Regions from separate parts of the Homo sapiens genome. Here regions 2, 3 and 4 are each linked to region 1. Evidence: promoter capture Hi-C in human tissues and cell types (Jung and others, 2019). All regions are on one chromosome and are shown on one strand. Each heading gives the region's core, a stretch centred on a gene start or on the middle of the fragment in contact. The rest is flanking DNA. Distances are from core to core; before and after follow the strand shown.

Region 1 (7,010 bases), core at 1-2,500:
TGCCCAAGGTCACAGAGAAAGCCAAAGGCCAAAGGAGGATTTGAACCTGGGGCTTCAGGCCCTGTGGCTTTGCCTGATTATAAGCTGAGCGAAGGGTGCTGGGATTTTTGTGGAGAGGACAGCCTCCGAGGCCTTAGGGAAGCCATTTTTAGAGCCTCTAAGGCCACTGGGGGAAATTGAATCTTTTACCAGGGCCTCCCACCTCCAGCCTCTTCTCCAAAGGGGAGACCCTCCCCAAAAGCACCAACTGTAATCACCCAGAAACCCCAAGCGTTTTTTCCTTCCACACTCTGAATCTAACACTATCCCCCACAACCCCAACATCAGGGACCCTGGCCCAAATCCTTCCCCAGGAGACCATCCTCCTCTCATCAGGCCTCGGTCCCACCCCCTCAAAGCAGCCTCCTTTCCAGGAGTGGTCGAGGTCCCACCACATTCTACAGCCTCTTCCTTGCCCCAGACCTCCTGAACCAATAACCAACCCCTCCGTCCCCCAGGCCCCAAGCTCAGAAGAGTGTGGCACAGCCATCAAACCAGCCCGCCGCATCCCCTCCCTAACCCTCACCTGCCTGCTCCTCCCGGGCTCGGAGCCCCACTTTGAGAGACCCTCCCAGCCCCCACCCCCATAATTCCCCGCGCCCGCACAATTCGGCCTCCCCTCCCACCCCCCACCCCAACCACCACCGCCCCCAGCACGGGCCAGCTCCCCCCACAGCCGCTCCGTCTCGCCGTAAACACTCCAGTGTCCCCAGACGCCCCCCCCTTTCCGATCCCATAACACCCCACGCTCTCCTGACGCCCCACAGCCCCGGCCGGGCCCTCAGTCAAGCCGCGACCCAGGCCCCCAACGACCCACGCCTGTCTGACGCCACCAGTCTGGGGCACCCGACCCCCGCACGCCTCGGGCGCCCCTGGCCCTGCACGCCTCCATCGGGACCCCCCCACTGGATCCCCTTTGCCCCCAGTGACCCCCATCCCTGGCCACCCCCGCCCGGCCGCGCCCCCTCGGGCACCCCCGACCCCCGTGCCCCCCCGGCTCGCCACCCCCGCGGCCCCTCGCCCCGCCCATCGGCCGCAGCCCCCGGCGCGCTAGCCCCCGGACCAGCCTAGGCCAGGGCAGCGGCCCGGCCGGCACGGCGCCCCCAGCACCCCAGGACACTTGCCTCTGGCTCCGGGACCCCCACTTGGGGTCCTGCGCCCCCCTCCCCGCCCCCAGCCGCGGCCGCCGCGCCTCGGGAACCAGGTTCGGCCGCTTGGCCCCGCCCCTGCCGTGCCCATTGGCCGCCGCTGCCGCGACTGCCGCACCCGTTGGCTCATGCAGACGTCCGTCCCGGGCGTTGGCACCTCCCCCTTCCTGCTTGGCCCCGCGGGGCGTTCTTAAAGGGACCGAAGCCTCCCGGCTGCTGGGGCTGGGGCGGGGGCTGGGGCGGGGGCTGGGGCGGGGGCTGGGGCGGGGGCGGGGGACCCTGGGCTGGACCCCAACACGGGTCAGTATCGCGCAGCCTGTGCGACTCCTGCCTCTCCTCTGAGCTTCATCCTGACCATCTGCGAAATGGGGATAAACACCCCCATCTATGCACTCTCACCTTGGGGGCTGCTGGGGGCACAGTCCACTCTAAATGTTATTTCCTTAAAGAGTTCAAGCTTGACGGGCAGGGCAGCTCTGGGGTTGCTGAATGACCCATCCTGAAGCCTTAGTTACAGAAGTGAACCTGAGGGCCTGAGGAGGAGTGACGTGCCCAAAGGCATACAGAAACCTCCCTCCCATCCCCCACACAGTTTAATGTCTAGAAGGTTGCCTGGTGCATACTGGAGGCGCTCGATTACTGCTGCGCAGGCGACTGAGCCAGCAGGGCCACTGGGAGGAGTTCCTCCTCTATGCACTGTCTGCTGGAGGGTGATAAGGTCCCCATGGCTCGGGAAGAAGGTGGCATCCTTGATTAGCTAAGTTTTTGTGGATCTTGTTTTGAAACCGGGACACTTCTCCCTCCTTCACTCAGTTTTATTTCCTTCCTAGCAGTTACTCCTTCCAGAATTATCTTGTCATTATTTTGCTTGTGGTTGGAGGGACCATCCCTCACTCTGCTTCATCCTGGCAGAGATTTTTACCTGATTTGTACCCAGCACCTCCTTGAACCATGCCTGGCATCTATAGAAGCTCAATAAATGGGTAGGTGGATGGATGGATGGATGGATGGATGGATGGATGGATGGATGAGTCAGACACCAGCTTTTGGAGGTAGCTATCATGGAGGTGGTAACTGGCTTTTTGGAGATCACTTCTAAGGTTGGAGTTCCCAGGTTACCTCCTACAGGAAGCCCTCCCAACCTCCCCAAGGCAAGACCAGGTGCCCCCTTTAGCTGTCTTGGCACAATGAAGTTGATGAACGTCCACTTCATAACTAGTTTACTTGGGTTTTTTGTTTGTTTGTTTGTTTTTGTTTTTTGAGAAGAAGTTTCACTCTTGTTGCCCAAGCTGGAGTGCAATGGCGCAATCTCAGCTCACCGCAACCGCTGCCTCCCAGGTTCAAGCGATTCTCCTGCCTCAGCCTTCCAAGTAGCTGGGAGTAGAGGCATGCACCACCATGCCTGGCTAACTTTGTATTTTTAGTAGACACGGGATTTCTTCATGTTGGTCAGGCTGGTCTCAAACTCCCGACCTCACGTGATCCGCCCACCTCGATGTACCAAAGATTACAGGCATGAGCCATCGTGCCTGGCCTTTTTTTTTTTTTTCTTTCTCTTTTTTTTTTGAGACAGAGTCTCTCTCTGTCGCCAGGCTGGAGTGCAGTGGCGCGATCTCGGCTCACTGCAACATCCACCTCCTAAGTTCCAACGATTCTCCTGCTTCAGCCTCCTGAGTAGCTGGGACTACAGGCACCCGCCACCATGCCCAGCTAATTTGTATATTTTTAGTAGAGACAGGGTTTCACCATGTTGGCCAGGATGGTCTGGAACTCCTGACCTCATGATCTGCCTGCCTCGGCTTCCCAAACTAGTTTACTTATATCTCTGCCTTTTTTTTTTTGAGATAGGGTCTTACTTTGAAACCCAGGCTGGAGTGCAGTGGCACGATCTCAGATCACTGCAACCATGTCTATCTCCTGGGCTCACGCAATCCTCCTGCCTCAGCCTCCTGAGTAGCTGGGCCCACAGGTGCACCATCATGTCCAGCTAATTTTTTTTTTTTTTTTTGAGACAGAGTCTCGCTGTGTAGCCCAGGCTAGAGTGCAGTGGCGCAATCTCGGCTCACTGCAAGCTCCGCCTCCCAGGTTCACACCATTCTCCTGCCTCAGCCTCCCAAGTAGCTGGGACTACAGGCGCCTGCCACCATGCCCGACTAATTTTTTGTATTTTTAGTAGAGTCAGCGTTTCATCGTGTTAGCCAGGATAGTCTCGATCTCCTGACCTTGTGATCTGCCCACCTCGGCCTCCCAAAGTGCTGAAATTACAGGCGTGAGCCATCGCGCCCGGCCCAATGTTTATATTTTTTGTAGAGATGGGGTTTCCCCATGTTGCCCAGGCTGGTCTCGAACTCCTGGGCTCAAGCAATCCTCCCACTTTGGCCTCCCAAACTGTTGGGATTATAGGCGTGAGCCACTGCTTTGATTTACCTCTGCCTTGCCCTCTACACTGGCAGAGCCCCAAAGTCTGGGAAGGCTTTGTTCTTTCTCATTGTTATAGCTCTGAGGCTTGCACAGTGCCTGCCACAAAAGGTAGTGGTGGGGTCTCACGGAAATCACTGAGGAAGGAAGGGAGGTTAAAGGTGGTAGCATAGCAGAGCTATGTAAGAAATCACCTGGAGGGCTGGGTGCGGTGGCTTATGCCAGTAATCCCAGCACTTTGGGAGGCCGAGGTGGGTGGATCACCTGAGGTCAGGAAATCTAGACCAGCCTGGCCAACATGGTGAAACCCCGTCTCTACTAAAAATACAAAAATTAGCCGGGTATGGTGGTGCATGCCTGTAATCTCAGATACTGGGGTGGCTGAGGCATGAGGACTGCTTGAACCCCAGGGGTGGAAGTTGCAGTGAGCAAGACCCAGTCTCAAAAACAGCCTTTGGGAGGCTGAGGCAGATGGTTCACCTGAAGTCAAGAGTTCGAGACCAGCCTGGCCAACATGGTGAAACCTGTCTCTGCGAAAAATACAGAAATTAGCCGGGTGCGGTGGCACATGCCTGTAATCCCAGCTACTTGGGAGGTTGAGGCAGGAGAATCGCTTGAACCCGGGAGGCAGATGTTGCAGCGAGCCAAGATCACGTCACCGTACTCCAGCCTGGGCAACCTAAGCCTGGGTAACGTAGTGAGAGCCTGCCTCTACAGAATATTAATTAATTAATTTGGAGACACAGTCTCCCTCTGTCTCCCACGTAGAGTGCAGTGGAACGATCTGGGCTCACTGCAACCTCTGACTCCCAGGTTCAAGCGATTCTCCTGCCTCAGCCTCCTAAGTAGCTGGGATTACAGGCGCCTGCCATGACACATGACTAATTTTTTTTTTGAGACAGAGTCTAGTGAGGCTGGAGTGCAATGGTGTGATCTCGGCTCACTGCAACCTCTGCCTCCCAGGTTGAAGCAATTCTCCTGCCTCAGCCTTCCTAGTAGCTGGGATTACAGGCGCCTGCCACCATGCCTGCCTAATTTTTTGTATTTTTAGTAGAGATGGGGGGGTTCCGCTATGTTGGCCAGGCTGGTCTTGAACTTCTGACCTTGTGATCCACCTGCCTTGGCCTCCCAAAGTGCTGGGATTACAGGCATGAGCCGTCACACCTGGCCTCTACAGAAAATTTAAAAATGTAGTCCCAGCTAAATGGGAGGCTGAGGTGGGAGGGATCCCTTGAACCCAGGAGGTCGAGGCTACAGTGAGTTATGATCAAAGTTCTGCACTGCAGCCTGAGCAACAAGGCAAGACGCTGTTTCTAAAATAATAGTAATAATTATTATTATAAATTAATAAGCTACTAAAATAAACTATAAAATAACACCACCAACAATAATAATAATGGCTGGCACTCATTGAACAGATATTTGCAGGCAAACATTTTACTTATATTTGCTTTTCCCTTTTTTTTTTTTTTGGGACAGAATCTCGCTCTGTCGCCCAGGCCGGAGTGCAGTGGCACGATCTCGGCTCACTGCCACCTCTGCCTCCCAAGTTCAAGCAATTCTCCTGTCTCAGCCTCTGGAGTAGCTGGGACTACAGGCACCAGCCACCAAGCCTGGCTAATTTTTGCATTTCTCGTGGAGACGGGGTTTCACTGTATTGGTCAGGCTGGTCTCAAACTCTTGACCTCGATCTCAAAAACAAAACAAAACAAAACAAAAACAAAAAAACAAGACTGCTCTACTTGGAGGCCATATCATTGGCTGCATGTAGAGTTGCAATTGTGTTTCCTGGTGAACTGAACCTTTTTTTTTTTGAGATGGAGTCTCAATCTGTCGCCTAGGCTGGAGTGCAGTGGCAAGATCTCAGATCACTGCAGCCTCTGCCCCTTGGGTTCAAGTGATTCTCCTGCCTCACCCTCCCGAGTAGCTGGGATTACAGGCACCCGCCACCACGCTTGGCTAATTTTTGTATTTTTAGTTGAGACGGGGTTTCGCCATGTTGGCCAGGGTGTTCTCAAACTCCTGATCTCATGTGATCCACCTGCCTCGGCCTCTCAAAGTGCTGGGATTGCAGGCATGAGCCAGAGCGCCAGGCCCGATCTGAACCTTTCATTGTTAAGATGTGCCCCTCTTTACTTCTTTCATTTTTCCCTTAGAGTGCACTTTGTTAAGATTGCACACCAAGCTTGGGCATGGTGGCTCACTCCTGTAATCCCAGCACTTTGGGAGGCCGAGGCGGGCTGATCACGAGGTGAAGAGATCGAGACCATCCTGGCCAACATGGTGAAACCCCGTCTGTACTAAAAACAGAAAAATTAGCTGGGCATGGTGGCACACTCCAGTAATCCCAGCTACTCAGGAGGCTGAGGCAGGAGAATTGCTTGAACTCGGGAGGCGGAGGTTGCAGTGAGCCAAGATTGCGCCACTTCACTCTAGCCTGGAGACAGAGCTAGACTCCATCTCAAAAACAAAAAAGAAAAAAAAATTACACACCAATTCTCCTTGGTTCATGTTTTCTTTCTTTCTTTCTGACACAAGGTCTCACTGTGTGGCCCAGGCTGGAGTGCAGTGGCACAATCATGAGTCACTGCAGCCTCAATCACCCACGCTCAAGCAATCCTCCCAGCTCAGCCTCTCCAGTAGCTTCAACTACAGGTGTGCACCACCATGCCCAGCTACTTTTTTTATATTTATTGTTTGTAGAGATGGAGTCTTGCTACATTGCTCAGGCTGTTCTCAAACTCCTGGGCTCAAGCAATCCTCTCACCTCGGCCTTGCAAAGTGCTGGGATTATAGGCATGAGCCATTGCGCCCGGGTCCATCTTTGTTTTTTAACTGGGGAATTTGGTCTATTGGTATTTAATGTAATTATGGACATATCTAGACATAAATCTGTCTCATTAGGTGGTTTTCCTCTTTTTTTTTTTTTTTTGAGATGGAGTCGCTCTGTTGCTAGGCTGGAGCAGTGATCACGCCATTGCACTTCAGTACAGGCAACAGAGTAAGACCCTATCACACACACAAAAAAGGAAATGAAATGGAAAAAAGTGGCAGAGAAAGCCTTCCAGTCCCCAAACCCGACCCCCGAAAGTCCCCATCTCTGGGCAGACTGAATGTTCGCATAACTTTCTATCCTCTCCCTTCATCATACAAAAAAACATGTTCTTATCTCAAGTCCAGTGTATACAAAACATCAGGGGCCAGCCAAGTCCCTTTTGGCCTCAATCTATAGTCCCCACCCCTTCTAAGACCCTCGTAAATGTTCCTTGGCTTCCAAAAGAGCCCCAAGGACCCACTGAAAAGTTTGATTTTGGCTTGGCACTGTGGCTCATATCTGTAATCCCAGCAATTTGGGAAGCCAAGGCGGGTGGATCACTTGAGGTCAGGAGTTCGAGACCAGCCTGG
Region 2 (6,612 bases), core at 620-3,119, 460 kb before region 1:
CCCCGTGCCCTTTGGGATTGCCACAGTCTGCTAGGTGTGGAACTGGGTGAGAGAAGGAGGGGGATGCCACCATGGATGGGTCAGGAAGACCCCGGCGCCCTCACTCCCACAAGAAGGACCTGTCCTGAGCCCTGCAGGCAGATTGGAAGCCTTGGGGGAGAAGGCGGCACCCCAGGAAACAGCCCCAAGTGTCCAACCTTGAGGGGGGAAAGATGCTTAACACACAAGGCTCTCCATCCTTCCATCTCTCTCTGTGATGACACAGAACCCCCACCCACCCACCCACCCCTGAGAGCCTAAAGCCCATCCTCCTTCCCTTTCCCTGGACTGACCACTCACTGCCACTATCTCCAGGATACCTCGTGGGCTGCCTCTCGCCCCCTCCCTGCTGCTGGTCTCCAGCCATGCCTGGCCCCTGAAGGCGCTGGGACCTTGAGGTGTGGCCAGCACTGCTGTGGGCATTCTACAGGCACTCAGTGCATCTCAAGAGCCATTGAAAAAGTCAGCACCCCGCTGATCCCCAGTGTACAGAGAAGGAAAGTTTATTTATTATTATTATTATTGAGATAGAGTCTTGCTCTGCCACACAGGCTGGAATGCAGTGCTGCAATCTCGGCTCACTGCAACCTCTGCCTCCTGGGTTCAAGCGATCCTCCCACCTCAGCTCCTAAGTAGCTGGGAGTACAGGTGCCCATCATCAAGCCTGGCTAATTTTTGCATTTTTAGTAGAGATGGGGTTTCACCATGTTAGCCAGGCTGGTCTCGAACTCCTGACCTCAAGTGATCCACCCATCTTGGCCTCCCATAGTGCTGGATTTTCAGGAGTGAGTCACCGTGCAGGGCCTGAGATTATTAAAAGTATATGGGAAGGCTGGGCATGGTGGCTCATGCCTGTAATCTGAGCACTTTGGGAGGCCAAGGTGAGTGGATCATTTGAGCCCAGGAGTTCGAGACCAGCCTGGGCAACACAGCGAGACGCTGTCTCTGTAAAAAGTATACACCAAAAAAATTAACCAGGCATGGTAGTGTGCACCTGCAGTCCCAGCTACTCAAGGGGCTAAGGCAGGAGGATCACTTGAGCCCAGGTGGTCAAGGCTGCAATGAGTTATGATTAGGCCACTGCACTCCAGCCTGGGACACAGAGTGAGACCCTACCTCAGTAAATAAATAAATAAATAAATAAATAAATAAATAAATAAATAAATAAGTAAAGTATACGGAAGGATGTGCATAGGTTATATGCAAATACTTTACCATTTTATATCAGGAACTTGAGCATCTTTGGATTTTGGTATCTGCAGAGGGTCCTGGAACCATTGCCCCGTAAATATGGAAATGACTGTATACATTATATTATGTATGTCTATCTATTGTAAACTACATACATAAGATACTATACTATGTATACCTATTAGATACATACTTGCTTTTTATTCCTTCCTTAGTTTTTTTTCTCATTGAACTCCGGGAGGTGGAAAAAATTTAGTGCATTTCACAGAAGAGAAAATCTAGACCAGAGGAAAGATGTCTAAGTTCGATCCCAGAAGCCATGACTGCCCATCTCCCATTTGACAGCAGGAAAGACTGAGGCACAGAGAGATGAAACCAACCCACACAGCAGGCCCACAGCTCTCCACACATACACGTGCCTCCACCCAGCAAGAGGAGCCGCCATGCCAGGGTCAGGGGACTCACCGCCCTGCCTGGACAGCAGGAAGAGGAAGAGGAGGGGGACCACCCAGGTCACCAGCGGCTCCATCGGATCCACGTAGAGCCCCACAGCCCCAGGGGAGCCTCTCTGCCACCTGCGAGGTTCAGCCACCCCGTCCCCACTCCGGAACACATTGAAGCTGAGCAAGGAGAAAAGACTGAAAAAAAAGAAAAAAGAAAAAAAGTAAAGTGTCACAGCCCATCCCTAAGGCAAGTCAAAGTGAAAGAGAAACCCAGGAAGTCAGCTCCGTGGTGGTGGTGATGGTGGCGGCCACAGACTCTGGAGCAAGTCTGACTTTGGAGCAAGTCAGGGTTCTAGGGGGTTCTGCCCTGCTGGCCCCAGACCTGAACTGAACACCCAGATGCCAGCCCCATGGGCCCATGGGCCACCTGTGGTTCCATGCACTTGGCCAGGTCTCTGGCCCTCTCTAGCCAATTTTTTTTTTTTTTTTTGAGATGGAGCCCTGCTCTGTCGCCCGGGCTGGAGTGTGGTGGCATGATCTCCACTCACTGCAACTTCTGCCTCCCGGGTTCAAGCAATTCTCCTGCCTCAGCCTCCCGAGTAGCTGGAATTACAGGCAACTGCCACAACATCGAGCTAATTTTTGTATTTTTAGTAGAGACAGGGTTTCACCATGCTGGCCAGGCTGGTCTCGAACTCCTAACCCTAAGTGATCCACCCACCTCAGCCTCCCAAAGTGCTGGGATGACAGGCGTGAGCTACCGTGCCTGGCTGCCAAATTCTTTTTTTCTTCTTTTGAGATAGGGTCTTGATCTGTGGCCCAGCTGTAGTGCAGTGGTGCAATCACGGCTCACTGCAACATCAACCTCCCCAGGCTCAGGCCATCCTCCTACCTCAGCCTCCCCAGGAACTGGGACTACAGGCATGCACCACCACGCCCAGCTAATTTTTGCATTTTTTTTTTTTTAAGAGAGGGGGTTTTGCCATGTTGCCCAGGCTGGTCTCAAACTCCCGGGTTCAAATGATCCGTCCGCCTTGGCCTACCAAAATTCTGGGATCACAGGCGTGAGCCACCGCACCGGGCCATCTCGCCAGCTTCTGAATCTGAGACTCAAGAGCTGAAGGAGGGCAGTGTTCTTGGATGGCCTAATTTCATCCTTCCAACAAATTGTTACAAAGAGCTTGCAGCATGCTGGCCCTCCACAATGCCCACCTCCCCACATGCCAAGCTCCAGCCTTGTGCACCTGGGCTCACCCCTCTAATCCCAGCACTTTGAGAGGTCGAGGTGGGAGGATCACTTGACCCCAGGAGTTTGGGTCTACCTAAACAACATAGCAAGACCCCATCTCTATAAAAAATAAAGAATTAGGCCAGGCGCGGTGGCTCACGCCTGTAATCCCAGTACTTTGGGAGGCCAAGGCAGGTGGATCACGAGGTCAGGAGTTTGAGACCAGCCTGACCAAAATGGTGAAACCCTGTCTCTACTGAAAATACAAAAATTAACCGGGTGTGGTGGCAGGCACCTGTAATCCCAGCTACTGAGGAGGCTGAGGCAGGAGAATCGCTTGAACCCAGGAGGTGGAGGTTGCAGTGAGCCGAGATCGCGCCACTGCACTCCAGCCTGGGCAACAGAGTGACACTCCATCTCAAAATATATATATATATATAAATTAAAAGTTAGCCAGTCGTGGTGGCACACATCTGTATTCTCAGCTACTCAGGAGGCTGAGGTGGGAGAATGGCTTGAACCCAGGAGGTTGAGGCTGCAGTGAATCGTGATTGTGCCACTGCACTCCAGTCTGGGTAACAGAGCAAGATCCTGTCTCTTAAAAAAAAAAAAAAAAAAATTTAAGAGATGCAACTTAGTCTTTCCCCCATGTTCCATTTCTTAGCCTCTGAGTATTTTGTTTCCTGCCCCTCCCTCCCCACTGTCGGCAAAGCCTCTAAATGTCAGTGGAGAAGCTCTGATCCAAGCTACCATGTGGATGAACCCTCAAAAACATAATGCTGGGCTGGGTGCAGTGGTTCACATCTGTAATTCCAACACTTTGGGAGGCCGAGGTGGGCGGATCACCTGAGGTCAGGAGTTTGAGACCAGCCTGGCCAACAAGGCGAAACCCTGTCTCTACTAAAAATACAAAAATTTGCCAGGCCTGGTGACATGTGCCTGTAATTCCAGCTATTCGGGAGGCTGAGGCAGAGAGAATTACTTGAACCTGGGAGGTAGAGGTTGCAGTGAGCTGAGATCGTGCCACTGCACTCCAGCCTGGGTGACAGAGTGAGACTCCATCTCAAAAAAAAAAAAACACACATACACAAAAAAAAAAACCCATCATGCTGGGTGGACGAAGATGGACAGGAAAGGCACACACTGTATGATTCCACTTATATAAAATATCCAAAATAGGCAAATGTACAGAGGCAGACAGTAGCTGAGTGGTTGTCAGGGGCTGGGGGGAGGCGGGAGTGAGAAGTGACTGCTGATGTATGCGGGGTTTCCTTTTGGGGTGATGCAAATGTTCTGGAACCAGATAGAGGTGGTGGTTGCACAACACTGAATGTGCTAAATGTCACTGAATCGTTTGCTTTAAAATGATGAATTTCCGGCCCGGGCGCGGTGGCTCACTCCTGCAATCCCAGCACTTGGGAGGCCGAGCCAGGTGGATCATTTGAGGTCAGGAGTTCGAGACCAGCCTGGACAACACAGTGAAACCCAGTCTCTACTAAAAATACAAAAATTAGCTGGGCGTGATGGCATGCACCTGTAATCCCAGCTACTCAGGAGGCTGAGGCAGGAGAATCGCTTGAACCCGGGAGGCAGAGGTTGCAGTGAGCCGAGATCACACCACTGCACTCCCACCTGGGTGAGAGAGTGAGACTATGTCTCAAAAAAAAAAAAAAAGATGAATTTTAGGTTACGTGAGATGCATCTACAGAAAAAAGAAATATTCTTAGAGTCCAGGGGCACTGAGGAGGGAGAAGGAGAGGGTCTCTCCTGGGGATGAGCATCTGTGGAAACTGAGGCCCAAGTGGCCAGGGTTGTGCAATGCGGTTCAGCTTCCTGGGAGGAGGTCCCTCCTTCAAGAAGCCTGGCTCCGAGGGGCAGCTGAGCTGGCCAGGGTCAGGCGCCCAGCAGGCTATGAGGTCAGTGAGTTAGGGACAAAGACTCAGTGTCCTGGGCCTGGCACAGTGGGGACGGGGGCCCTGTGACCCCATACAGGACAGCCTTCTCTGGCCCCGGGGCCCAGGCCAGGGTCAGCTGGGGGATGGATGTGTGAGGCCTGGGGGAGGGGCAGAGACAGAGAAAGGGACAGAGATAGAGAGATACATAAAGATGGAGGAGGCCAGGCAGGGTGGATTATGCCTGTAATCCAGCACTTTGTGAGGCCAAGGCAGGAGGATTGCTGTAGGCTAGGAGTTCAAGAGCAGCCTGGGCAACATGGTGAGACTCCATCTCTACAAAAAATAATTTGCTGGGCATGGTGGCAGGTGCCTGTAGTCCCAGCTACCTGGGAGGCTGAGGCTTAAGCCAGGGAGGTCGAGACTGCAGTGAGCTCTAATTGCGCCACTGCACTCCAGCCTGGGCCACAGAGCAAGACCCTGCTCAAAAAATAACAAGAAAGGTGGAGGAAATAGGTAGAGATCAGAGGAAAGTCATGGCCCCCTCCTGACCATCCTGAGACCCTCCCAACTCCACCAATTCCTGGAGAGTCCCTCACTTGCCTTATTTCACAGATTGGGAAACTGAGTCCAGGGGCACTCAGACCACCTGAGGCCCCAGCTGGAGATGAAGAGATGGATTCAAACCACCCCTTGTGGAGTATAGTTTTGCCCCTTCCAGAGTGGAGACCGTGCCTCAGGGCTTCCCCCACCCGCACCAAGGTTGGCCCTCTCAGGCCTCATCTTTCCCACCTGCAAAATGGGCTTTTGTGAGTATGAAGGAGGGCTTGGCTTGCAGTGAGCGCTGTCCACCCGCTGGCCAGTGTGATTAGTCATTGTTGTTGTTCCCCAGTGGCCTCTGCCTGGCAGCTGCTGGAAAAACATCGAGGGAGGGAGATACAGGGCTGGGGAGGTGAAAAGCTGGACACAGACGCCCCTAGCCCCTTGGGATCAGGAACAGATGGAGGCCGGGTGCCCTGAAGTGGAGCAGGGAGGACTGCCTGGAGGAGGGACACTTGAGCTAGAATGTATAGAATTACAGGGCATCTCCGGCAGAGGCCACAGCAGAGGCAAAAGTCCAGAGGAGGTGCTTTGGGGACCACCAAGATGGACACAGTGGGTCTGGGTTTCTGTGGGGTGATGGGCTGGGGCCTCGAGCGCCAGGCTAAAGGGCCTGGCTTTCTCCGAGGGCGGTAGGGAGCCATGGCAGGTGTGTGAGCTGGAGGGGTACCCCAGACAAAGGTGAAGTGGTATTTCTCCCCTTATTGAAGTCACAACCTGACACTCCCTCTGAAGTTCCCCACATCCCACCTTCCCCTTGCCACATCTTGGCAAGCCCACCTCCTTCCCTCCGTCTCTAGGCCTGCCAAGAGGCCCTGTGGGCCCCTTATGGCCCCACCCAGCTGCCCCAGAAGCTCGTCTGAGATAAGTTCCCAGGGCTGCCCCACTTTCAGGTGCCCCACAGACTCGGGGGCGGGTGAAGCAGGAAGGATCGAGTCACGAGGGCCCCAGAAAACATGACGGGAGGAACCACAGCACTTCCCCACCTCCTCAGCTTCCGCCTTCTCAGGGAGAGAGACCTTCAGCCCGAGGAGGAGGGCCGAGCTTCCCTCCATGTGGCAAGAGACCCTAACGTCGCTGAGGATCATCTAAAGAGGGTGTTGAAGGATGCATAGGAGTTAGCCAGGAGACAACCCATTTGTTAATTTAACAAACTCATAGGCATCACTCATCAACAAGAACAATTTTCATCATTCAATCAGGACTTTCTAATGCCTCT
Region 3 (7,002 bases), core at 2,588-5,087, 260 kb before region 1:
GGTGAAACCCCATCTCTACTAAAAGTACAAAAAATTAGCCAGGCGTGGTGGCGGGCGCCTGTATTCCCAGCTACTCAGGAGGCTGAGGCAGGAGAATGGCATGAACCCAGGAGGCGAAGCTTGCAGTGAGCCGAGACTGCGCCACTGCACTCCAGCCTGGGAGACAGAGCGAGACTCTGTCTCAAAAAAAAAAAAAAAAAAAAACAGGGGTGTTGGGCAAGTCTCAAAACCTCCCTTCCCCTTCTCTACTAATTGGGGGCCACAGTAGGTACCATCATTGAGTGCGGTCACTGTTGTCCGTCCCCTGAGCACCTCCCAGTTCTGACTTCTGACCTGAGAGATGTTATGCTGGATGCAAACACCCGCATCTCACAGCACAGGATGTAGAGGCCATCGGGGGAGGAGGACTCGCCTGAGATCTCACAAATGCCAACTGGAACCTAAGCTGGGTCCCGGTCTCCCAACCAGTGACACTCTGCCCGAGATGTGGTTCTTGGTCTCTTGTGTGTCAAGACACCCCTGCTCTCCCACCTCAGCCTCAGTTCCCTTCAGCAGGTTCCTTCAGGCCCTGCTGAAACGTCTGCATGACCTCCCACAAGGCAACGTGACAGCTAAAAACCAAACCCTGGCCGGACGTGGGGGCTCACGCCTGTAATCCCAGCACTTTGGGAGGCCGAGGCGGGTGGACCACTTGAGGTCAGGAGTTCCAGACCAGCTTGACCAACATGGTGAAACCCTGTCTCTACTACAAATACAAAAAAGTAGCCGAGCATGGTGGGCACCTGTAATCTGAGCTACTTGGAGGCTGAGGCAGGAGAATCACTTGAGCCCGGGGAGGCAGAGGTTGCAGTGAGCCTAGATGGCGCCACTGCACTCCAGTCTGGGTGACAGAGCGAGACTCTGTCTCAAACAAATGAACCCCAACATAGCTGTTGGTGGCAAGGCCTTTCTCCATGACCAAGGGACGGTGGCCATTCTCTCCAAGTTTCTTCATCTGTAAAATGGGTACAATTCAGTGGCCCTCCCTAACAGGGCTGGCTAGGTACACATGGCCACCAGCCCTACTTGCTGTGTGACCTCGGCCACTAATGTTCACATCCCTCAGGGTCCCCAATGAGTTGGAAGCCCAAAGCGCAGGGTCTTAACAGCAAAGGGCAGAGCAGGCAGGAGAAGCAGGAAGCCTCGGGTCAAAGCTCTGAAAGTGAGGGAGTCCAAGGTCAGACTATCTCTGCACAGTCTCCTTAAAAGGCTGTGTGATGTCAAGCCAGTTGCTCAACCTCTCTGAACCTTAGATTTCCTCAAAGTAGGGAGTAGGATGTTGGGAGGAGGAGGAGAAGCGAACTTCAGGGAGATACTTGGAAAATCCCAGTCCTGGAGGCAGACCTCTTGGGTTAGATCCCACCTGTGCCAACTTCCTCCTGGTACTGGGTCCATCAGCTTGTCCTGGGCCTCAGCATCCCCCGATCCACCAAAAGAGAAAAGCTTACACTGTAAGCCAAGCACTGCTCTGTAAACATAAACTCTCTTAATCGTCACAACTTTATGGGGCAAGTTTTTCGACTGTTCTCCCCATTTTATACGGACAGGCAAACCAAGGACCAAAAGGTTAAAAAGTTTACTAAGTTTCTGTCTCTTCCTTCCTGCTTTGGGCTGGGGCTGTGCCCTTTCCACCTCGAAATCTCTCCTTCCCAAAAGGCAAGGGGGCATTAGCTAGTTCCAAACGCAGATCAAAGACCCCAAGACCCCTCCCCAACCTGGACATCAGCCGGCCCCGCGCCAAGGCGCGTCTAGGGGGCGCTCGCTGCGCGCCAGATGTGCGGGCCGCTCTCAGACACCCGCTCTCTGCTCCCTCCAACAAGGGGAGGAGCTAGGGACAGAGGGAGGAGAGAAAGGCGGGGGTGTAGGGGGGAAGCGAACCAGGCCCCGCCCAGCCCGCCAGGCCCCGGCGGGGGAAGAAGGAGGCGGAGAGCCGAGCTGGCGTAACGAGACTTTACTGAAAACAGAAAACCGGGCGAACCAAGGATTACAAACAGGAATGTGGACTCGTAGCAAAACAAAACAAAACAGAACAAAAAAGGGAGGGGGGACCGGTCGAAAGAACCGAAGGGGGGAGCGAGATCGAGGAAAGGGGCGGAGAATTTTTTTTTCTTCTTCCCATTTCTTTAAAAAACCAACACAAGAAAACACACACACACACAACCAACGTTTGTTCCCGAGTAGAAACATAAATAGGGCAGAATCGAACACTCTGTTCTTCTCTCTTCCAAAGAAAAAAAAAAAAAAGTAAAAGTAAAGGAAAGGCAGGGTTTGAGGCTGCGCCCCCTCGGAGCCCCCTTCCGCGGCGCGGTGTACAAAGGGGCAGCCGAGACGCGCGGGTTTGTGCAACACGGGGCGGCCGCGCGGGGGAAAGAGGCAGCGCGAGGGCGGGGGGGTCATGCGCTCGCCCCCCCGGGAGCAGGGGGTCCAGCTTGTCGAGTCCTGGGCACCCTCGGGGGGGGGGAATCCCCGGGGGCCGCGCCCTCTCTGAGTTCCTGGGCACACTCGGGGAGGGGGGGTCCCCAGGGCCGCACCCTCTCCAAGTCCGGGGCGCCCACGACACCCCCCCGCGAGCCCGCCCCTTGGGGAGGGTGGCCGCGCATGCGCCCCGCGCGCGGACTCAGTACGCGGGCACCTGGTGCTGGGGCAGCAGCTGGCAGCCGCTGTTGACGTGGCTGAGGACTTTCTGCTTGAGCTGCGCCACCTGCTCGCGCAGCAGGCTCGCCGTGGACGCCAGCTCCGTGTTCTGACTCTTGAGGGTCTTCACTTTCTCTTCCAGGCGCGAGATGCGCTCCAGCTTGCGCTTGCGGCACTTGGAGGCGGCGATGCGGTTGCGCAGCCGCTTGCGCTCCGCCTTGATGCGCTCCTGCGTGTCCATGTCGATGGGCGACAACGGCGGGCTCTCGCCGAAGCTCGGCACGTCGGGCACCGTCTGTGGCTCGTCCTTGAGCGCAGCCAGGCGCGGCGGCCCCAACGCGCCTGGGGGTGGCGGCGGCGGGAAGGGCACAGGTTCGGCAGCGAAGGCGACCGTCGCGGCGCCCCCCGCGCCCCCGGCGCCGCCCGCGTAGCTGCTCAGGTTCGCGTAGACAGGCGCTTCGGGCGCGGCCGCCGCCGGGGCCAGCTCGCCGGGGGGCGCGGAGCCCGTGGCCGTGCCCGAGGGCCCCCCGGCGGCGGCGGCGGCGGCGGCAGCGGCCGCGCCCGCGCCGAGCTGGTTCTGCTTGTGTAAATCCTCCAGGGCCTTGACGAAGCCCTCGGCGAACTCCTGCTCCTCGCTGGCCGCCACCTTGGGGTAGAGGAACTGTGAGCTCGTCGGCGTGGTGGTGACCAGCCCGTTGGACTGGATGATGAGGCGCTCGAGCTCGGGGGAGGCCAGCTTCAGCAGCCCCAGGTCGGGAGAGGCGAGCAGGCCGTCGGGGGGTGCCGCGCTGGGGGCGCCGTCGGCGCGCAGGGGGGTAGGAGGCGGCGCGGCCGCAGGCTTGAGCGCTGCCGCCACCTGCTCACTCAGGCTCAGCGTCAGCGCGTCCTTCTTCATCATGCTGCCGGCCGCGGCCGTCGGGGGCGCCCCGGGGAACAAGCGGCCCGGGGACGCGAAGCTGCCGCCGCTGCCACTGGCGCCGCCGCCCAGGCCGCTCAGCGCCTCATCGCCGTAGAAGGGTGTTTCCATCCTCCGCCTCCCCCGCCGCGCCGGCCCGGGGGGGAGTGGCCGCGGCCTCCCGGGGGGCCCGCGCCCCCCCGTCCGCTCGGCCCTGCGCCCGCCCCGGCCGCGGCCGCAGCGCCCGGCCCTCCACTGGCGGCGGCTCCTGCGCCGCGCCACTTGTGCGCCCTCTTATAGCCTCGGCTCGGCGCGATGAGCTCACCGCCCCCGTTCGCCATTGGGTGCGGGTGACGTCGCTCATTTGCATGGAGGGGCGGGGCCAAGCCGCCGACGCCCGCCCGGCCGCCGTTGCCCCGGCGACGCGCGGTAAACGCCACAACAGCGCGCTGCCTTGTGGGTTGACGTCATGGGGGCGGCCGCGCGCCCGGGCCGGGTCACCCCGCCCCGGGACCGCTGTGTACGACCGATCTCCCCGGCGCCGCCTCCGCCAAGGCACGTCCCGGGTGGCGTGATGGGCCCGGGCCACCAGGCGCCCGCCCGCCCCGAGGCCCCGCCCCGTGTCCGCGCGTGGGGCCCCGGCCGGGCGGGGGCGGGGGCGGGGGCGGTGCCGGCCTCCGGGGACTGGAGGGGGATGGGGTCCCGCATGGCTAAATAACTCCTTGGCGCCTCCTGCTCTGCTGTGCCGCCAGGGCCTCCCCTAGCGCGCCTTCTGGAGAGGCTTTGTGCGGATACGGGGCTGGAGGCCTGGTGGGGCTGTGTCCGGGGGCTCGCCGGGGGTGTGGGGAGGTCTGCGTTCCTCACCCTCCCTCCTTCCTTCCCTCCCTCCCTCCACCCCGCGTGTGATTGCTCAGGAAGAGACGGGAGGGGAGAGGAGGGTCGCCAGAAGTTGCTGAAAGCGCTTGGATCCTGATCATTTTCACTGAGTGCGTTCTAGAACCAGGAGTCCTACTTCCTGCCTTTACAGATGGGAAACTGGGCTCAGAGAGGTGGAGTGACCATCCCCCGAGAGTTAGCTAGGAGTCACAGCAGGGCCCGGGCTGTGACTAGGCCTGAGCTCTTGTCCACCCTTAGAACCCTAGAACCTGGGAGTCCAGGCCCCTGCGCAGCCCCTTCCTTCCGCCGCCCACGTTTTAACCCCAGGTCTGCCAGGGCTGTGATGTCCTGGGCGAGGGTGCCCAACTCCAGGGGCTGGGCTGATGAGGCAGGAATGCCGGGTATAATTATTACATGCTTGTTACCACTATCATGGCTGTTAGGGCTTAATGAGCCACTATTAAGACTGGCTGGGAAGGGGGTGTGAGGGAGGAGAGATGGACCCACCCCACCAATACTCACAAGGGATCCTTAGGACATCTGGATCTGACCTACAGCCTCTGCATGCACCCCTCCAGCTCCCCACCTCTGTCTGAATGGAGCCCACACCCTCCTTTCCCTGACCTCCTTCCCCTCACTCTCTCTGATCCTTGGCCTCCCAGTTGCAGGACTAATCGTACCTCTGGGCCTTTGCACGTGCTATGCTCTCTGCTTGGTACTCCCTTCCCCCAGTGCAAAGATGTGTCTTCAGGAAGTGCCCCACCCTCAGACTTTACTCCTTTATTGTAGCCTCTGAATCTGCCAGAATGATGGAGTGGACCATAGTCCCTGAAGGTCAGGGACATTGCCTATGCTGAGCCTGCTGACAGGGCCTCGCATAGAATGGATGCTCAGTATTAAAGGTGAATGCGGGGCTGGGTGTGGTGGCTCATGCCTGTAATCCCAGCACTTTGGGAGGCCGAGGCAGGCAGATCACTTGAGGTCAGCAGTTCAAGACCAGACTGGCCGAAATACAAAAATACAAAAAAAAAAAAAAATACGAAAATTAACCGGGTGTGGTGGTGTGCACCTGTAATCCCAGCTACTCAGGAGGCTGAGACATGAGAATCGCTTGAACCCGGGAGGCAGAGGTTGCAGTGAGCTGAGATTGTGCCACTGCACTCCAGCCTGGGAGACAGAGTGAGACTCCAGTCTCAAAAAAAAATAAAAAATAAAGGTGAATGCAACAAAAGGTTGCTTGTGTGGGTGGTCTCTAGCCTCAGTTTGTCTGCCTGGCCAGTGGGCATGCGTTACTCCTTTTCTATCCTCCTTACTCACCTGGCTCTGCCCCCAACTGGGGCATGAAGGCCATAAGGGAGGCTGTCCTCATCACCAAGAGAGGTGGCCTGTCGGCCACACGCGGTGACTCCTGCCTGTAATCCCAGCACTTTGGAAGTCTGAGGCAGGCATTTGAGGTCAGGAGTTTGAGACCAGCCTGACCATCATGGTGAAACCCCATCTCTATTGAAAATAAAAATTAGGCTGGGCGCAGAGGCTCACGCCTGTCATCCCAGCACTTTAGGAGGCCAAGGCAGGCTGATCACGAGGTCAGGAGATCAAGACCATCCTGGTTAACACGGTGAAACCCTGTCTCTACTGAAAAATAAAAAAAAAAATTAGCCGGGCATGGTGGCGGGCGCCTGTAGTCCCCAGCTACTCGGGAGGCTGAGGCAGGAGAATGGCATGAACCCGGGAGGCAGAGCTTGCAGTGAGCCGAGATCACACCACTACACTCCAGCCTGGGCAACAGAGCGAGACTCCGTCTCAAAAAAAAAAAAGAAAAAAGAAAAGAAAAAAAAATTAGCCAGGTGTGGTGGCAGGTGCCTGTAATCCCAGCTAGTCGGGAGGCTGAGGCAGGAGAATCGCTTGAACCCGGGAGGTGGAGGTTGCAGTGAGCCGAGATTGCGCCATTGCACTCCAGCCTGGGCTACAGAGTGAGACACTGTCTCAAAAAAAAAAAAGAAGAAAAAAAAAATAGGCTGGGCGAGGTGGCTCACACCTGTAATAAGCACTTTGGGAGGCTGAGGCGGGCAAGTCATCTGAGGTCAGGAGTTCGAGACCAGCCTGGCCAATATGGCAAAACCCTGTCTCTACTAAAAATACAAAAATTAGCCAGGCATGGGGAGCGCACCGGTAATCCCAGCTGCTCTGGAGAAAGGAGAATCACTTGAACCCAGGAGATGGAGGTTGCAGTGAGCTGAAATCATGCCACTACACTCCAGCCTGGGCAACAGGGCAAGACTCCATCTTAAAAATAATAATAATAATAATAATAATAATAATAATAATAATAATAAAGACCTGGCCTGGCAGGCCTGGGATTCAAATTGCCAGGGCAGGGAACTGGAGGTGTGGGTTTGTTTTGTCTCTAGATTGGTTAGGAAGGTGTCTGTCTGCCTATTGGAGTGTGTGTCTGTGTGTGCACCTGTGTCTGTCTGTATTCGTGTTGTATAGACAGACGCAGGTACACACAGATACATACTCAGATCCATGGGTCTCTGTGCTCTCTAGCCCAGGTT
Region 4 (7,022 bases), core at 1,484-3,983, 340 kb before region 1:
TGGTGGCTCATGCTTGTAATCCCAGCACCTTGGGAGGCCAAGACAGGTGGATCACTTGTGGTCAGGAGTTCAAGACTAGCCTGGCCAACATGGCGAAACCCTATCTCTACTAAAAATACAAAAAAAAATTAGCTGGGCTTGGTGGTGAGCCCCTGTAATCCCAGCTACTCAGGAGGCTGAGGCAGGAGAATCGCTTGAACCCGGGAGGCAGAGGTTTCAGTGAGCCAAGATTGCACTACTGCACTCCAGCCTGGGTGACAGAGCAAAAACTCTGTCTCAAAAAACAAACAAACAAATAAACAAACATGGACTGGGCACTGATCTTTTCCACACCCTGAACTGGACACTGGGGACACAGTTGTTAACAAGATGGGCACTTCCCTTGCTAAGTGACACTCAGTGTGGGAAATAGAAAATAACGGTATAAATGTATCCTATATTGGAGAGTGACAAGGACCAAGGAGAAAAATCAAGCCAGATGAAGATGGAGAGAATTTAACTGTAGGTTTAAAAATTAAAGGAAGCTGACACTTGCCTGTACTCCCAGCTACTTGGGAAGCTGAGGCGGGAGGATTGCTTGAGCCCACGAGTTCAAATCCAGCCTGGGCAACAGAGTGAGACTCTGTCTCTTAAAACTAACAAGGCCAGGTGGGGTGGCTCATGCCTGTAATCTTAGCACTTTGAGAGGCTGAGGTGGGAGGATCGCTTGAGCCCAGGAGTTCAAGACCAGCCTGGGCAGACATAGCCCGACCCTGTCTCTACAAAAAAGAAAAAAATCAGCAGGCGTGGTGGTAGAAGCCCGTGGTCCTAGCTACTCAGGAGGCTCAGGTGGAAGAATGGTTTGAGCCTGGGAAGTCGAGGCTGCAGAGAGCCGTGATCACGTAACTGCATTCCAGCCTAGGGGACAGAGCAAGACCACCCTGTCTCAAAAAACAAACAAAAAAAGAGAATGGGGACCAAGATCCAGCTGAAACCTCATACATGGAAGAACTTGAAGATGGGGAAACTGAGGGACCAGGATTAGGTGCTTATGGGAGAACACAGGTGCTGTTTCTGCCCCGGTACACAGTGGGCACCTTACTGATAAATGCCCAGTGTGTAAGTGAATGACTCCAGTCAGGAAAGAGATAGACGAGGTTGGGGCTGCTTTTCCAAGTACGGGAATCCAACCGAGCCGGGCGGGAGCCCTCCAGCTGGGACCCACCCAGATCTGCAGCTTGATCCTCTTGTCGTTGCGATAGATGGTCTTGACCTTGAAGTCGATGCCCACGGTGCTGACGAAGGCAGGCGTGAACGAGTCGTCAGCATAGCGGAAGAGGAAGGACGTCTTGCCCACGCTGCTGTTGCCGATGATGAGAATCTTGAACATGTAGTCGAAGTTCTGATCCGAGGACTCCTTCTGCCCATAGCGCGAGTCTGTGGCGGATGCCATCTGGGGATACCGGGTGTAGCAGAGCCGTGAGGGGGGCTCTCTCCATCCTCATGTGCCCAAGCCCAGGCAGAAGATGGCAAGGGCTCCAGAAAACGGCCGGTGTATGGAGGACACCCTTATCCCATCAGGAGCCCCAGTATTAATTGGTGGTGCCCCCAGCAGAGGGCAGCCTGTGACCTTGAAATCCTGGGCGTTTCAGAGGAGGGGCTCAGAGGGTTGCCGATGGGGACACCCCAGCAGCCCCCTTCAAGGGGCAGGTGCCCCAGGTGGGGCTGTAACCCTAAACCCAGGGCTGAGCCCGGAGGGGGTGACTGCGGCTGGCTCCGCCCCCCATCAATCTTTCATGGTCCTCAGAACCCGGCCGCGCGGCCCCACGTGCACCGCGTGCATGGTCCCTCGAGGACGCGCATCTGCAGCCCCCGCTCCCCGCAAACCTCCAGGCCGGAGAGCTCCGGCCAAGGCCGCTGCATCACATGATACAGGAGGGGCATGCACACGCTCACGTGCACACAGCCTCAAACACGCTCATCCGTACATACAGGAGTGTGTGAACGCACTGAGGTGCACAGGACAAAGACACAGACACCTGTTTGCACACCGACTCGCCTATAGAAATGTGCAAACCACCCGTGCGCACAGGCCCCTCCACCCATGCAGGCGTGTGCACATCACCCACACGGACACGGATCCCCGTGCTTGTATGCACGGGCCATACCTGCACAGGCGGTCCACACGTCTTTCTCCACGCGCGTGCAACGCTCACACACTTAGGCCCAGACCCCCACGGCGTCACACGAGCATATCCAGGTACACAAGCAAGGGTGCACACAGACCCGCTGACACAGGCAGGCGCGCACACGCGTGTGCACACCACGCGCACGCGCACGCAAAAGCCTCCCGCGCGCACAGCTTCCCGCAAGGAGCTCGGCTCCCCTCCCCCTCCGCCGCAGAGCAGGGGGGTTGGGGGGGTTAGTGGTGAGGATCAGGCAGGAGTGGGGCGCCCGGGCCCTACCCATTCCCAGCCTCGCGACCGCCGCATCCTTCCCCCCATTCAACCCTAGTCAACCTCGTCCCCCACCTCCATCAGCCCATCAGTCAAATGAAGGTTATGCAGGTGCTCGGAGCCTGAGCACACCCGGCCGCCCAGGAGCTCACCTTGCCCTGCACCGATGCAACGGCGACCCTAGCGGCGGTGACTTTTTTGGCGGTGGCGGTGACAGGACCCCGGTGCGTTGATGTGGGGCTGCGCGGCGGCGGCGGCAGCAGCGGCTCAGGCCCCTGCAGTCCTCCGTGACGTCCTGCAAAGGGAGGGGCGGAGCCTCACATGTAGATAAGTCCGTGACGCCATCCGGAGGCGGAGCCGCGCGTAGAGATGTGGCCCATTGACGCACGCAGAGCCAGATGGGGCAGGGCTCCTGAGCAGATTGACGTGCAAATGGGGCGGGGCCTAGCGTGTGCATCCAGTAGGGGCGGGAGCGGCGCGGGGGCCGACTCCGCCTCTCGTCCGCCTCCTGTCCGCCTCGGGGAGGCGGGGCCCCTCAGCGTTCTCTCACTGGCTTAAGCTCTCGAGCGACGGGCGAAGTAGCCAATCAGAGATTGTCTACGCCCTCCTCTTGTCCAATGGTGGCATCTGGGAGATTGAAGGGCCGAGAGGCTGAGGCCTTGGCTGAGCCCCGGTCTTCGAGGGGCGGTTCCCTTACCCGCCCGCACCCACCCCAGGTAGGGGACTCTTGAGGCCACCGTCTAGTCCAAGGTGCTGTGACCCCTGTTAAATGCCCCTGACTCCCAATTGCAGAAAAGAAAAATCGAGGCCCAAGAGATGTTTTATACCCTCACATATATGGGGTTCAAAATAAATACCAAAGAATAAACAGGAGTCAAGAGGGACCCCTGTCCCATTCCCGAGGCGTAAGACCCCCCCACTGAGGGAGGGGCTAGTAAAGACTCCACCCCTCCCCCGTTTCTGAGGTTTGAAAAGAAAGAAGTAGAGGTCAAGAGAGCCTCCCCTCCCCACCATTCCCAGAAAAGGAGGAAGGGGCTGATGGACTCTCTGGGAACCCCCTCCCCTCCCTGCGCCCCGTCATCAAGAAGAAAATTCGAAGAAAAGGTTTAGCAGGGACAGAGAAGCGACCTGTCCCGGAAACCCCTTAAAGCCTGCGGTAAATGCCCCGGGAAACAGGGAGGGCACGAGCCGAAGCCTCCAGCTCTTCAAAGCTCGGATTCAAAGACCCGGGGGCTGGGAGACCCCCTCCCTCCATCCTGGGAAAGCAAAACTCAGAGGATGGAGCCTTTTGGGAGCTAAGATGGTCCATCTTTTATTCCTCCAAATCTTTAGGGAAGGAAGTCAGAATTTGGGGAGGGAGGAGGAGCCCGAAACCCCAGCCCCCACTTTGGGTCTCCTGCTCCCCCTACTCCAGCTTTCAAACCCTCCAGGGGTGTGTGGCCCCCAGGAGAGTCCTGATCCCCTAGATTCTCCCCCCACCCCTCCCAGTAGGCGGGGCTGGAGCGTGTGTGTGTGGCGGGGGGTGACTCGTCCTGTTTATAAAAAGCTCGCCAGCTGCGGAGGCGCCGAGAGACCAGAATAACTTAGCGCCTCGAGGCCCAGCCGCCGCCAACCCAGTCCCCAGCCCGCCCCCAGTGCCCTGGGAGTACTGGGACGCCCACCCCCACGTCCCCGCACCGTTTACATTTGGGAAATTTATTTTTTCTTTTTAGGGTAACATGTTTGCTCCCTCCTCCCCCACTCGGACTATAGAAGTATCACCAATCCACTGCAGAGAAATTGGGAAAATTCAGAAAAACAAAAAATAAAAAGAAATCCACCTCCCATTCTCCCTGCCCTCCGCGCCCACGCGGTAGTCCGTGCTCTGTGGGGGGCTCCAGGGCAGCTGGTCCAGGCCCTGGCCTGCCGCCTCCTTGGAGGGGAGGTTTTTCGGTTGCTCAGCTCCCTGATCGCCCAAAGGCACGCTTCCTACATGGGTGGCTCTCTCGGAAATACCTCCTGCCTTTTTTCCCCAGGAAGAGAAAAGTGAGCCACGAGAATGTGCGGAAGCTTCCGTCACTGACTTAGTATTTTAAAGTAAAAATAGCCGGGTGCGGAGGCTTACGCCTGTAATCCCACCACTTTGGGAGACCAAGGCGGGAGGATCGCTTGAGCCCAGGAATTGGAAACCAGCCTGAGTAACATAGGGAGGCCCCATCTCTACAAAAAATTTAAAAATTAGCTGGATGTGGTGTCGCGTGCTTGTGGACCCAAATACTCCCGAGGCTGAAGTAGGAGGATCACTTGAGCTCAGGAGGTCGAGGCTGTAGGAAACCGTATCGCGCCACTACACTCCAGCCTGGACGACAGAGTGAGACGCTGTCTCAAAAAATTAATTACTTAATTTAAATTTAAAAAGAATGCAAGCCCTTGATTGTCCAGAGCAGCATTGGGCTCTGGAATTAGAAATGGTTGAGCTGGGGGAGGGGCTGCGGGATTGGGGTATTTTCTTTGTGTCAGGGGAGACAGAGCTGGTGGGAGAACGGGCTAGGCTTCCAGGCCGGTCCCACTCAGAGGAAAGTCCAGAGGCTTCCCTGCATCCCTACCCTATCGTCTACACTAGACAAATAAAAATAAAAATGTGGCCAGGTGCGGTGGTTTATGCCTGTAATACCAGCACTTTGGGAGGCCGAGTCAGGAGGATCACTCCTTGACCTTGAGGTCAGGAGTTCGAGACCAGCCTGGCCAACATGGTGAAACCCCATCTCTGCTAAAAATACAAAAATTAGCCCGGTGTGGTGGTGCCTGTCCCAGGAGGCTGCTCAGGAGGCCCAGGCATGAGAATCGCATGAACCAGGGAGGCGGAGGTTGCAGTGAGCTGAGATCACCGGCACCACTGCACGCCAGCCTAGGTGCTAGAGGGAGACTCTGTCTCAAGAAAAAAAAAAAAAAGTATCCCAGATACGGGTCCAGGGACGACTTCTCGGGGAAGAAGACACTAACTTAAAACCCAGTGTGGGGGCCAGGTGTGGTGGCTCATGCCTGTAATCCCAGCACTTTGGGAGGCCGAGGTGGGTGGATCACCTGAGGTCAGAAGTTCAAGACCAGCGTGGTCAACATGGTGAAACCCCATTTCTACTAAATATTAGCCGGGCATGGTGGCGGTCGCCTGTAATCCCTGCTACTTGGGAGGCTGAGGCAGGAGAATCGCTTGAACCCGGGAGGCAGAGGTTGCAGTGAGCCAAGATCACGCCATTGTCCTCCAGCCTGGGCAACAAGAGCGAAACTTTGTCTAAAACAAAAATAAAAACAAAAATCTAATGGGTGAGGCTGGGGGCTGAGAGAGAAGCATTCCAGGTAGTGGGAACAGCTTGTTTGAAGGCCCTGTGGTGGGACCAGGCTTGCAGTGTGGCCAGAGCAGATGCAGTCAGTAAGAGGAGAGGGACAAATGCCTTTGGCTCAAACTGAAGGAGAACATATGAATATTCATTTATAAGAAATATGAATATTCTAGGGCTGGGTGCAGTGGCTCATGCCTGTAATCCCAGCACTTTGGGAGGCCGAGGCAGGCGGATCATGAGGTCAGGAGTTCAAGACCAGCCTGGCCAACATGGTGAAAACCCAGTCTCTACTAAAAATACAAAAATTAGCTGGGCATGGTGGTGGGCACCTGTAATCCCAGCTACTCAGGAGACTGAGGCAGGAGAATCGTTTGAACCCAGGAGGCGGAGGTTGCAGTTAGCCAAGATCACACCATTGCACTCCCGCCTGGGCGACAAGGCGAGACGCAAAGAAAGAAAGAAAGAGAAAGGGAAAAGGAAAGAAAAGAAAGACAGAGAAAGAAAGAAAAGAAAAGAAAGAAAAAAATATGAATTTTTTTTTTTTTTTTGAGACAGTCTCGCTCTGTCACCCAGGCTAGAGTGCAGTGGCTCGATCTTGGCTCACTGCAAGCTCCGCCTCCCGGGTTCAGGCCATTCTCCTGCCTCAGCCTCCCGAGTAGCTGGGACTACAGGCGCCTGCAACCACGCCCGGCTAATTTTTTGTATTTTTAGTAGAGACGGGGTTTCACTGTTAGCCAGGACGGTCTCGATCTCCTGACCTCGTGATCCGCCCGCCTCGGCCTCCCAAAGTGCTGGGATTACAGGCGTGAGCCACCGCGCCCAGCCAAAAATATGAATATCTTATAACAGATGGAGAAAAACTAGAGGGAAATAAGTCAAAATACTGCAGATAATCCATGGGTGGAGATACAGCAGAATTTTATTTCCTTCTTTATACATTTCCATTATTTCCAAATTTTTTACAGCGAACATGGTATTACTTTGTAAGCGGACTGGGGGGAAAAATCTTGAAAAAAAAATTCCCTAAATATCTTCTTTTTAAAAGTCTGGAAGGAAATGCACCAAGTTCGTGAACCCGGATGACTTTTAGTTCTGGCACTGTGGAATTTTATCATTAACTGTGATGATGATGAATTCTGAGTGGTTATAATATTTATGAACGAAGCCAGCTGCTCTGGAAGCCGAGGGCGGCTGTGATGACGCCTGTATCTTGTATAAATATTCAGGCACGCGAAGAGGGAGGCAGAGGGGAGGGATGGATACTGAG

The links. Contacts are between HindIII fragments. The study calls those that stand out against the background at their distance.
Region 2: the fragment with the promoter of IL12RB1 here is called in contact with the fragment with the promoter of FKBP8 in region 1 in 1 of the 25 tissues and cell types used here (dorsolateral prefrontal cortex).
Region 3: a contact is called between the fragment with the promoter of JUND here and the fragment with the promoter of FKBP8 in region 1, in 1 of the 25 tissues and cell types used here (dorsolateral prefrontal cortex).
Region 4: a contact is called between the fragment with the promoter of RAB3A here and the fragment with the promoter of FKBP8 in region 1, in 1 of the 25 tissues and cell types used here (dorsolateral prefrontal cortex).

The regions. Positions count from the first base shown.
Region 1 is chr19:18,542,323-18,549,332 of GRCh38, forward strand. It overlaps FKBP8 (FKBP prolyl isomerase 8), which reads right to left and starts at 1,251. Exons shown (of 9, transcript NM_012181.5): 1 at 1,164-1,251. RefSeq lists a silencer at 1,067-1,496. The HindIII fragment of the contact is 12,332 bases long and covers 1-7,010 here.
Region 2 is chr19:18,085,065-18,091,676 of GRCh38, forward strand. It overlaps IL12RB1 (interleukin 12 receptor subunit beta 1), which reads right to left and starts at 1,870. Exons shown (of 17, transcript NM_005535.3): 1 at 1,696-1,870. The coding sequence starts at 1,759. RefSeq lists enhancers at 1,782-2,131, 2,142-2,201. The HindIII fragment of the contact is 62,137 bases long and covers 1-6,612 here.
Region 3 is chr19:18,277,785-18,284,786 of GRCh38, forward strand. JUND (JunD proto-oncogene, AP-1 transcription factor subunit) reads right to left here and starts at 3,838. Exons shown (of 1, transcript NM_005354.6): 1 at 1,910-3,838. The coding sequence starts at 3,700. The coding sequence ends at 2,657. MIR3188 (microRNA 3188) reads left to right here and starts at 4,293; the gene lies at 4,293-4,377. It overlaps LOC124904652 (a long non-coding RNA gene), which reads left to right and starts at 4,308. Exons shown (of 2, transcript XR_007067154.1): 1 at 4,308-5,346. RefSeq lists enhancers at 1,117-1,196, 1,537-1,746, 2,972-3,823 and silencers at 1,797-1,996, 2,427-2,736, 3,317-4,316. The HindIII fragment of the contact is 27,320 bases long and covers 801-7,002 here.
Region 4 is chr19:18,201,309-18,208,330 of GRCh38, forward strand. It overlaps RAB3A (RAB3A, member RAS oncogene family), which reads right to left and starts at 2,734. Exons shown (of 5, transcript NM_002866.5): 1 at 2,588-2,734; 2 at 1,205-1,432. The coding sequence starts at 1,432. LOC102725254 (a long non-coding RNA gene) reads left to right here and starts at 3,422. Exons shown (of 2, transcript NR_134910.1): 1 at 3,422-3,591; 2 at 4,148-4,255. PDE4C (phosphodiesterase 4C) reads right to left here. Exons shown (of 15, transcript NM_001098818.4): 15 at 6,657-7,022. RefSeq lists enhancers at 1,976-2,758, 2,791-3,085, 3,271-3,370 and silencers at 2,751-3,140, 4,026-4,085. The HindIII fragment of the contact is 10,728 bases long and covers 1-6,784 here.